3 separate regions of the Homo sapiens genome follow, and regions 2 and 3 are each linked to region 1. The links are contacts of gene promoters, found by promoter capture Hi-C in human tissues and cell types (Jung and others, 2019). All regions are on one chromosome and are shown on one strand. The core of a region is centred on a gene start or on the middle of the fragment in contact, and the rest is flanking DNA. Distances in the headings are between cores, read along the strand shown.

Evidence for each region. The method cuts DNA at HindIII sites, captures the fragments that hold promoters and counts their contacts. A contact is called where the count stands out against the background at its distance.
Region 2: a fragment that was not itself captured here is called in contact with the fragment with the promoter of MSH2 in region 1 in 1 of the 25 tissues and cell types used here (aorta).
Region 3: a fragment that was not itself captured here is called in contact with the fragment with the promoter of MSH2 in region 1 in 1 of the 25 tissues and cell types used here (dorsolateral prefrontal cortex).

What each region holds. Positions count from the first base shown.
Region 1 is chr2:47,401,208-47,404,619 of GRCh38, reverse strand. MSH2 (mutS homolog 2) reads right to left here and starts at 1,464. Exons shown (of 16, transcript NM_000251.3): 1 at 1,218-1,464. The coding sequence starts at 1,428. RefSeq lists enhancers at 878-937, 304-1,012, 1,013-1,723, 1,728-1,777. The HindIII fragment of the contact is 21,211 bases long and covers 1-3,412 here.
Region 2 is chr2:47,710,290-47,714,024 of GRCh38, reverse strand. No RefSeq gene overlaps it. Among named protein-coding and RNA genes, the nearest start is that of MSH6, 71 kb to the left of the region's middle. The HindIII fragment of the contact is 4,436 bases long and covers 245-3,735 here.
Region 3 is chr2:47,746,241-47,749,889 of GRCh38, reverse strand. No RefSeq gene overlaps it. Among named protein-coding and RNA genes, the nearest start is that of MSH6, 35 kb to the left of the region's middle. RefSeq lists a silencer at 1,591-1,744. The HindIII fragment of the contact is 4,372 bases long and covers 1-3,503 here.

The sequences.
Region 1 (3,412 bases), core at 215-2,714:
CTGGGCCAGTCTCCTTCCTTTTCTACACCAGCAACGCCAATCTACCTCGTTTCAAGCCCTCTCCCTAGCAAACTTCTAGTCCACCAAGACTCAACGTGGACTTTGGTGTCTCATATAACGCCTCTTCCGTTGTATGAGACTCTTCCAAAGTCTTCCGTCTTTGGCGATCCTGCCTTGGCGCCTCTTGTAACCTCTTACAAGCTCACCTCCATAAGCCTCCAACTTGAATTGTAATTATTTCTGCCTTGCTGTCCAATAGTGATCTCTATGAAAGTAGAGGTATTTCTTTTTTCATCTAGTGTCCATAACCCTGCCTAACACATTTATATCTAACGAATGAAACATTTTTCATCAGGAGTATCGCATTTGCACTAGTCCTCTAGTCAGGACTAGAATCCACAACTCTGCTCCCCCTAGGATGCTCTTTTCATTAGCATAACTACATAGCTGCAAGAAAGCGCAAAGAAAACAGGGAGAGAAGAGGTTAACTAGGCCTATCCAGAACATTTGGCCCACATAGGGTGAGACGTTTGTAGCTTTCCAGGGAGAGATAATCCTGGATAGATGGGGTCGGGTGACGGAGAGCACTGAATGCTGAGCTGAAGCAGATAGCGTCCATGACTGGCCCAAGGTCACACGTTAATAAGCAGAGGGGCAGCGACTTGATCCCAAGCAGCCCAGCTCCAGAGTCCGTTGGTCCTGACCACTTCATCATACTGCTCTTCAACGGCGCTCCATTACCAGACCCTTAGCTGGACCGGCGGTATAAATGGGAGCGTCGTGGGAGCAGAATTACGTGTCATAAAAGGGTCTCCTAAACCCCCAGTCTATTTTAAATCTCACTCCTGGCTGCTGTTTGTTAATAAGAGATTCTGGCCGTGTTTGTAATGAGCGCTACATGTAGGGCCAAGGCGAGGAATGCGACTGCTGGAAAATGAACTAGAACAATGCATTAAAATGCCTGGCACGACGTAAACACTCCGTGATCACAAGTTCAGATCCGGGGCGGCTGGAGAGGCACGGGTTTCAGGGCTGAGGGGGGCGTCCCTCCGGAGCCAAGCAGAACCTGGGGACGGCGGAATCCGCACAAGCACCAACGTTCCGCCCCCGTGCCTCCGCACTGGAGAGGCTGCTCACCGCCCACTCTCTGAGGCGGGAAAGGAGCCGCGCCACAAGGCCCCGGGTCCCTCCCCAGCACGCGCCGTCCCGGCCCTCACCTGCCGGCCCCATGTACTTGATCACCCCCTGGGTCTTGAACACCTCCCGGGCGGCCAGCAGCGCGTCCTCGCCGTGCGCCGTATAGAAGTCGCCCCGGTCGAAAAGGCGCACTGTGGTGGTCGGCTTCTCCGGCATGCCCTGAAAGAAGCGCACGAAGCCGACCTCGGCCGCGCTCTCCAACTGCAGCGTCTCCTTCGGCTGCACCGCCATGTCGAAACCTCCTCACCTCCTGGTTGAAGAAAATGCGCGACCCCACACCCACTAAGCTGTTTCCCGCCTCCCCTCCCACGTCCCCCGAGCGGCGTCCGGCCACGGCGACCACACCCAATCAGCTTCCAGGGCTGCGTTTCGGTGGGTGGGAGTCTGCCGCGGCAACCAATCATAAGCAGACGCGGCCCAGCTTCCCGCGCACGCTGGTGACTTTAGCTACTGCGCATGCCTGCGCCTAGGTCGCGCGGAAACCCGCAGACGCGCATCCTTAGTAGAGCTCCTTTCTGTGTTTACTCAGCTGCAAGGCTTGAAGCCCCTGGGTGGGGTGTATGCAAGGGTAGGTTGCCACCAGGTGGGAGATTTCCGGCAGGCACTGAGCTCGTAATGTGCCCGGAAGCATGGGAGTAACATCAGAAGGAAACTTGAAAACAAAAAAAAAACTAGCCTTCCTCCTCCTCCCAGTATTTTGTTAAAACGTGTGCCCCTCTCCGACTGCCTCCCTTTTTCTTTCTAAGCAAACTGCCAACATCGGGATTACGGGTTTATTCTACACAGCCTCCTTACTGCTGCCTGTTAGCCACATTATCGTTTCATCCACTCGTTGATGATTCACTCATTCGAAAACATTTATATGGCCTGCTATGTCCCAGACTCTTCTTGGCTCTGAGGATCGCCAGTAAAAAGAAAAATCACTGCCTTTATTCTGCTTACATTCTAATATGAGAAAATTCAGATAATGAATATAGCAAGTAAATGAAATGGTACGTTAGAAGATATGCGTTTGTGGCAGGGCGCGGTAGCTCACGCCTGTAATCCCAGCAATTTGGGAGGCCGAGGTGGGCGGATCACTTGAGCCCAGGAGATTGACACCATCCTGGGCAACATGGTAAAACCCACGTCTGTGATCCCAGATATTAGCAGGGCTGAGGCGAAAGGATCACCTGAGCCCGGGAGGTCGAGGCTGCGGTGAGCCGTAAATTGTGCCACTGCACTCCAGCGTGGGCGACAGATTGAAAACCCTGTCTCAAAAAATACAAAATAAAATAAATAAAAAGACAAACGTTTGACGCCAGGCGTGGTGTCACACGCCATAATCCCAGTACTTTGGGAGCACGAGCCAGGAGGATCGTTTGAGCCCAGGAGGTCTTCTGCCGTCAGCTATGTTCACGCCACTGCACCGCAGCTGGGGCGACAGAGCGAGAGACCCCGTCTTGAGGGGGGGTAGGGGAAGACCAGTTAAGGAAGAGGAAGGTTGAAATTTTAAAATGTTAGCAAACAGCCAGGCGCAGTGGCTCACGCCTGTAATCCCAGCGTATTGGGAGGCCAACGCGGGTGGATCACCTGAGGTCCGGAGTTTGAGACCAGCCTGGCCAACATGGCGAAACCCCGTCTCTACTAAAAATACAAAAATTACCGGGCATAGTGGTGGGCGCCTGTAATCACAGCTACTCGAGAGGCTGAGGCAGGAGAATCTCTTGAACCTGGGAGGTGGAGGGGGCAGTGAGCGAAGATCGCGCCACTACACTCCAGCCTCGGTGACAGAGCGAGACTCTGTCTCAAAAAATAAATAAAATGTTATCAAACACCTGAAGGAGCTCAGGATCCATCCTGCAAAATTAACTCTTAGAAAAGGTTTTTGCTGGCCGGGCGCGGTGGCTCACGCCTGTAATCCCAGCACTTTGGGAGGCCGAGGCGGGCAGATCACCTGAGGTCAGGAGTTCGAGACCAGCCTGACTAACATGGTGAACCTCCGTCTCTACTAAAAACACACACAAAATTAGCCGGGTGTAGTGGTGGGCACCTGTAATCCCAGCTACTTGGGAGGCTGAGGCAGGAGAATCCCTTGAACCTGGGAGGTGGAGGTTGCAGTGAGCCGAGGTCGCGCCATTGCACTCCAGCCTGGGCAACAGGGTGAGACTCTGTCTCAAAAAAAAAAAAAAAAAAAAAAAAGGTTTTTGCATTCTCCAGTTTAGTTTACCCTTTC
Region 2 (3,735 bases), core at 1,213-3,712, 310 kb before region 1:
TTCATTTCTCTGCTAAGATTCTCCATTTGCTTAGTCATTGTAATTGCCTTTTCCTTTACATCTCTGAAAATATTCATAATAGCTGTTTTTTTTCTTTTTCTTTTTCTTTTTTTGAGACAGAGTCTCACTCTGTCACCCAGGCTGGACTCACTGCAACCTCCCCCTTCCAGGTTTAAGCGATTCTTGTGCCTCAGCCTCCCAAGTAGCTGGGACTACAGGTGCGCGCCACCATGCCTGGCTAATTTTTGTATTTTTTGGTAGAGATGGGGTTTCACTATGTTGGCCAGGCTGGCCTTGAACTCCTGACCTCAGGCGATCAGCTGGCCTCGGCGTCCCAAAGTGCTGGGATTACAGGTGTGAGCCACCATGCCCAGCCATAATAGCTATTTTAAAGTCCTTGACTGCTGTGCTACTTAGGTATCAATTTATTGTGTCTAAGTGCTAAATCAACCTTTCATAATCTGCCTCTGTGATAATGAACTGGATCTTTTAAGCATTTCTCTTTTGCAATGACAACAGTGTTAGTTTTTGTTAGAAGAGGAGGCTAGAGGGACTTTGTAGGAAAAATTGGCTTTCTCCTGGTTCCAGTGCTTCTTTTTTTTTTTTTTTTTTTTTTTTCACTTAGAGATAGGGTCTTGCTCTGTCACCCAGGTTAGAGTGCAGTCGTCCAGTCATAGCTTACTGCAACCTTAAGCTTCTAGGCTCAAGGGATTCTCCTGCCTCAGCCTCCTTGGTAGCTAGGACTACAGGCATGCACCCCTATGCCTGGCTATATATTTTTTTTAACCTTTTTTTTTTTTTGAGATGGAGTTTTGCTCTTGTTGCCCAGGCTGGAATGCAATGGCGTGATCTTGTCTCACTGCAATCTCTGCTTCTCGGGTTCCAGCGAGTCTCCAGCCTCAGCCTTCAGCCTCCCGAGTAGCTGGGATTACAAGCATGTGCCACCACATCTGGCTAATTTTGTATTTTTAGTAGAGATGGGGTTTCATCATGTTGGTCAGGCTGGTCTTGAACTCCTGACCTCTTGAACACCTGCCTCGGCCTCCCAAAGTGCTGCGATTATAGGCATGAGCCACCGTGCCCGGCTTTTTTTTACTTTTTACTTTAGAGACAGAATCCCACTGTGTTGTTTGGGCAGGTCTCAAACTCCTGGCCTTGAGTGATCCTCCTGCTTCAGCCTCCCGAGTCACTGAGATTATAGGCGTGTGCCACCCTGCTGGCCTCCAGTGCTTCCATTTTTGCCCGTATGTTTGTTTGCTCTTGTTGCATGACTGACAACCACGTGTCCAATGCACAAAGTTCCTCAGTGAGCTTGCTGGCTCCAGCCTGGTAACCACCTCACTGCAGTCCTTCCAAAGTGGATGCCATGCATCCTAGGCCTCAGGCTGCTCTGCCAGCCAGTGGGCTCATGGTGTCCTGATTCCCTCTGTGTATCCATCTACTAGCCCCGGCCCACCTGCACCCCAAATAGTTGTTCCCCATGACCCTCCTAACATGGATACCATGCAACCTAGGCATCACATGTCCTGCTGCTAAGTTGGTTCCTAATGCCTTGATTCCCTCTGTACTCCCACCCACTAACCTTGGCCCACCTGCACCCTGGAGGCAAGTGCTTCCTATTTGCCCACCAATTGTAGATTAGTTTTGTTTTGTTTTTGAGATGGATTCTTACTCTTTCACCCAGGCTGGAGTGCAGTGGCACGATCTTGGTTCACCCACCTCCTGGGTATAAGCCATTCTCCTGCCTCAGCCTCCCCAATAGCTGGGATTACAGGCACACACCACCACGCCCAGCTAATTTTTATATTTTTAGTAGAGATGGGGTTTCACCATGTTGGCAAGGCTGGTCTCAAACTCCTGACCTTGTGATCTGCCTGCCTTGGCCTCCCAAAGTGCTGGGATTACAGGTGTGAGCCACCGTGCCCGGCTGCTATAGATAAGTTTTGACCTGGGCAACCCAGTGAACTTTTCCATCCTAGAAACTGTTGTGTATATTGTTTTTATGCTTTGCTTTTTAGATTTTCTCATTTTAAAATTTTTATTTTATATATATATATATATGTATTTATTTATTTTTTGAGATAGGGTCTTGCTCTGTCACCTAGGCTGGAGTACAGTGGCACAATCATGTCTCACTACATCCTTGACCTCCTGGGCTCAAACCATCCTCCCACCTCAGCTTCCTGACTAACTGGGACCACATGTGCTTACCACCATGCCCAGCTAATTAAAAAAATTTTTTCTTTTGTAGAGACAGGGTCTCACTATGTTGCCCAGGCTGGTCTTGAACTCCTGGGCTCAAGCTATTCTCCCAAAGTGCTCAGCCTTTGGGCTCAGCCTCCCAAAGTGCTGGGATTACATGCGTGAGCCACCACATCAGGCCTAGGTTTTTTTTAATATACCTGAAATTTTTTTTTTTTTTTTTTTTTGAGACAGGGTTTCACTGTGTTGCCCAGGCTGGAGTGCTGTGGCACAATCTCAACTTAGTGCAACCTCAACCTCCTGGGCTCAAGCAATTCTCCCACCTCAGCCTCCCAAGTAGCTGGGACTACAGGTGCGTGTCACCATGCCCAGCTAATTTTTGTATTTCTTGTAGAGATGGGGTTTTGCCATGTTGGCCAGGCTGGTCTCTAACTCCTGAGCTCAAGTGATCCACCTGCCTCAGCCTCCCAAAGTGCTGGGATTATGGGTGTGAACCACTGCGCCCGGCCTTATATACCTGAATTTATAAAGCAATAATTATTATAATAGGAAGAAACCAGTATCCAGCCCAAATTGTCAGCCAAGAAGTCAGGCAGTTTTTTTGCTTTGTCCTTAAAGATTTAGATGACGAAATGCACAGGGCACGTATGAGGGAAGAGGTGCAGAGCTTCCTCGCCCTCTCTGGCTTGCCACCCTCTAGGAATTCAGCTACCTGGAAGCTCCCATTGCTTTTCTACTTCATATTTCTTGTGCATCATTTCAGATCATAAAATAAGCAATGCCTTATTTTTTTCAACAGTTTCTTGGTATTACTCGGTATAGACAGATCACAGATTATTAATTCAGTCCCCTCTTGCTGGACAACCAGTTTGGTGCAGTGTGCTCTTCCACTACTAAGCCAAGTTGTATTTTGTCTGTTCGAGTCTGTGCTTTTAACTTAACTGTGGAGAACAGGTGCTGCATTTTATTCTTGGTTGTATCTCCAGCACCTGGCCCTGTCCTTGGCATGTTGTAAAAGTAATGAGTTCAATTCCATCCCACAGGGCTGCTCCTACAAGTGCCTGACCCAGGAGGATTTACCAGCCAAGAAGGGCCTCCCCACTGCTTCATCTTTGCCTCCTTCTGGTTCAGGTGGCAGGTGAATCCCTCTGGAGGCAGCTCCCTTCCCACTGATCTCCTGGATTCTCCAGGTCATCATAGAAACGTGGCCTCGGAAGACCCCTCTAGTAGGGGCCACAGTCTCTCCCCAGGGTCCCGACTCGGCTTTTTCCTAAACCCTCCTTTGGGAACCACTGCTCAGAGCATGCTCAGGCCACTGTGTTCTCTTGAGAACTATGTGCTTCTCCCAGCACTGCTTCACAGAAGGAGGAGGAGGCAGTTCATTTTCTCCCTGACTTCAAGCCTCTGGCACAGCCAGACTGCTGGGAAGCATTCACTGAAGCTTCCCAGGCCTTTCTCAGCATGAATATTTTACACCTCTGCAGTAAACTCAATTGTTAAAGCAAGGAATAGAGTAGTCCATGCCACACTGTT
Region 3 (3,649 bases), core at 68-2,567, 350 kb before region 1:
GATGGAGTGCCACTGCACTCCAGCCTGGGTGATAGAATGAGATCCTGTTTCAAAAAAATAATAATCAGAAAAAGAAAGTGACATTCTTTATTTACTTCAAGGCAACCATGTGAACTGTAAATTTAAAGTATGGGGCCAGTTTTTCCAAGGGTGTTTATTGGCTTCCTAATGTCAATCCTAGTTCCTTAAAGCTGTCTGGTCATATCTGAAAATGTGATATTTCAGTCAAACCCTTAATAAAACAACCAGTGTCTCCAACTGTGCTTTGTTACAAGAAGAACAGATTCTTTTTTTTTTTTACAAGAAGAATAGATTCTTATTAAACTTATGCTAATAACTAGATTGCCATAAAATAAGAATACTCATGAATAATTTTTAAACTTTGGAGAAATCAGGTAGAGAGAGACAGGTAAATGTTTCCATTTTGCTAATAAATGTATCTTTTACTCTATGTCTATAAGCTATAAATTACTCAAAAGACAAAAGTTTTATTGATTCTGCAGAACAAAATATAAAAGCAATCAGCAGTGTTTCAAATAAAAAGTCATAAAAGCCATTTTATCCCTTTATCAGATCAGTTCCATATAATTGATTCCTGTTCTGCTTGATGTTGGGTTAGCAATATTCATGAATGATGCATCAGTTTATTAGAATTCTGAAAGTTTTAACTTAATCCAATGATATGATCTCCAAAGTTATCAGAAACTTGTGTTCATGGCTGGGCATGGTGGCTCACGCCTGTAATCCCAGCACTTTGGGAGGCAGAGGCGGGTGGATCACTTGAGGTCAGGAGTTAAAGACCAGCCTGGCCAACATGGTGAAACTTCATCTCTACTAAAAATACAAAAAAAAAAAAAAATTAGCTGGGAGTGGTGGTGTGCACCTGTAATCCCAACAGTCCCCCAAAGTCTTAACTTATTCCAGCATTAGGTCAAAAGACCAAAGTCTAAAATCTCATCTGAGACAAGACAAGTCCCTTCTGCCTATGAGCCTATAAAATCAAAAACAAGTTAGTTACTTCCAAGATACCATGAGGGTACAGGCATTGGATAAATGCTCCCATTCCAAAAGGGAGAAATGGGTCAAAAGAAAGGGGCTACAGGCCTCATGCAAGTTTGAAATCCAGCAGGGTGGTCATTAAATCTTAAAGCTCCAAAATAATCTCTGTTGACTCCATGTCGCACATTCAGGGCATACTGTTGCAAGGGGTGGTATTCCAAAGCCTTGGGCAGTCCTGCTTCTGTGGCTTTCCAGGGCTGCTCTCAAGGGCTGATGTTGAGTGCCTGCAGCTTTTCCAAGTGCAGGGTGCAAGCTGTCAGTGGATCTACCATTCTGGGGTCTGGAGGATATTGGTCCTCTTCTCACAGCTCTACAGGGAAGTGCCCAATGGGGGCTCTGTGAGGGAGCTCTAACCCCCATATTTCCCCACCGCACTGCCCCAGAAGTGGTTCTCCATGAGGGCTCCACCCCTGTGGCAGGCTTCTGAGTGGACATCCAGTCTTTTCCATACATCCTCTGAAATCTAGGCAGAGGCTCCCAAGCCTCAGCTCTTGCACTCTGCACACCTGGATGCTTAACACTCTGTGGAAACCACCAAGGCTTCTGGCTTGCACTCTCTGAAGTAGTAACCCACGCTGTACCTGGGACCTTTTGAGCCAAGGCTGGAACTGGAGTGGTTGGGATGCAGGGAGCTGTGTCCTGAGGCTGTGCAGAGTGATGGGGCCCTGGGCCTGGCCCAGGAAACCATTCTTCCCTTCTAAGTCTCCAGACCTCTGATGAAAAGGGCTGTGGTGAATGTCTGTGAAATGTCTTCAAGGCCCTTTCCCCATTGTCTTCACTATTAGCATTTACCTTCTTTTTAGTTACGCAAAATTTATGCAGCTGGCTTTAATTGCTCCCCGAAGGTGGGCTTTTCTTTCCTTTTCTTTTCTTTTCTTTTTTTTTGAGTTGGAGTCTCTCACTGTCACCCAGGCTGGAGTGCAATGGCACGACCTTGGCTCACTGCAATCTTCACCTCCTCGGTTCAAATGATTCTCCTGCCTCAGCCTCTTGAGGAGCTGGGATTATAGGCATGTGCCACCACACCCAGCTAATTTTTGTATTTTTAGTAGAGACGGGGTTTCATCATGTTGGCCAGGCTGGTCTCGAACTCCTGACCTCATGATCTCCCTGCCTTGGCCTCCCAAAGTGCTGGGATTACAGGCGTGAGCCACCACACCTGGCCAGTGGGCTTTTCTTTTCTACCACATGGCCAGGCTCCAAATTTTTCAAGCTTTTATGCTTTGCTTCCCTTTTACTTTTTATTTATTTAGTTTTGAGACAGGGTCTCTGTCACTCAGGCTAGAGTGCAGTGGCACAATCATTGCCTTGCACAGCCTTGACCTCCTGGGCTCAGCCTTCTGAGTGGCAGAGACTATAGGCGTGTGCCACCACACCTGGCTACTTATTTATTTATTTATTTTATAGAGACAGGGTTTGTCCATGTTGCCCAGGCTAGTCTTGAACTCCTGGGCTCAAGTGATCTGTCTGCCTTGGCCTCCCAAAATTCTAGGATTACACGCATGAGCCACTGTGCCCATCCTGCTTCCCTTTTCAATATAAGTTTCAGGTTTACATCATTTCTTTACTCATGCATATGGGAATCAGTGGTTAGAAGCAGCCAGGCTACCTCTTGAACACTTTGCTGCTTATAAATTTTTTTCACCAGATACCCTAAGTCATCATTCTCAAGTTCAAAGTTCCATAGATCCCTAGGGCAGGGGCACAATGCCTCCAAGTTCTTTGCTAAGGCATAACAAAAGTGACCTTTGCTCCAGTTACCAAAAAGTTCCTCATTTCCATCTGAGACCTCCTAAGCCTGGACTTCATTGTCCATATCACTATAAGCATTTTGGTCACAACAATTTAACAAGTCTCTAGGAAGTTCCAAATTTTCCCTCATCTTCCTGTCTTCTTCTGAGCCCTCAAAACTGTTCCAACCCCTGTTTGTTACCCAGTTCCAAAGCTGCTTCTGCATTTTCAGGTGTCTTTATAGCAATGACCTACTCCTCAGTACCAATTAGTCCATTATGGGCTATAAAGAAATACCTGAGACTAGGTAATTTATAAAGAAAAGAGGTTTAATTGGCTCATGGTTCTGCAGGCTGTGCAGGAAGCATAGCAACTTCTGCTTCTTCAGAGGCCTCAGGAAACTTACAATCATGGTGGAAGGTGAAGGGGAAGCAGGCACATCTTGCATGGCTGGAGTAGGAAGGGTGGGGGTTGCTACAAACTTTTAACAACCAGATCTGATGATAACTCACTCACTATCACAGGAATAGTTCCAACGGGATGGTGCTAACCCATTCATGAGAACTCCGCCCCCATGATCAAATCACCTCCCACCAGGCTCCATCTCCAATACTGGGGATTACAATTTAACATGAGATTTGTTGGGGACACTGATCCAAAGTATATTAACATATCAATAACATAGTTATACAAATATTTCTTACTTGACAGTGTTTCCTGTACACTTTTAACATACCAGATAAGCCTAACATGGCTCTCTTGGACTTACAGGTGTTCCTTTTGGAAAAGTCTTCTTTTTTTTTTTTTTTTTTTTTTTTTTTGAGATGGAGTTTTGCTCTGTCACCCAGGCTGGAATGCA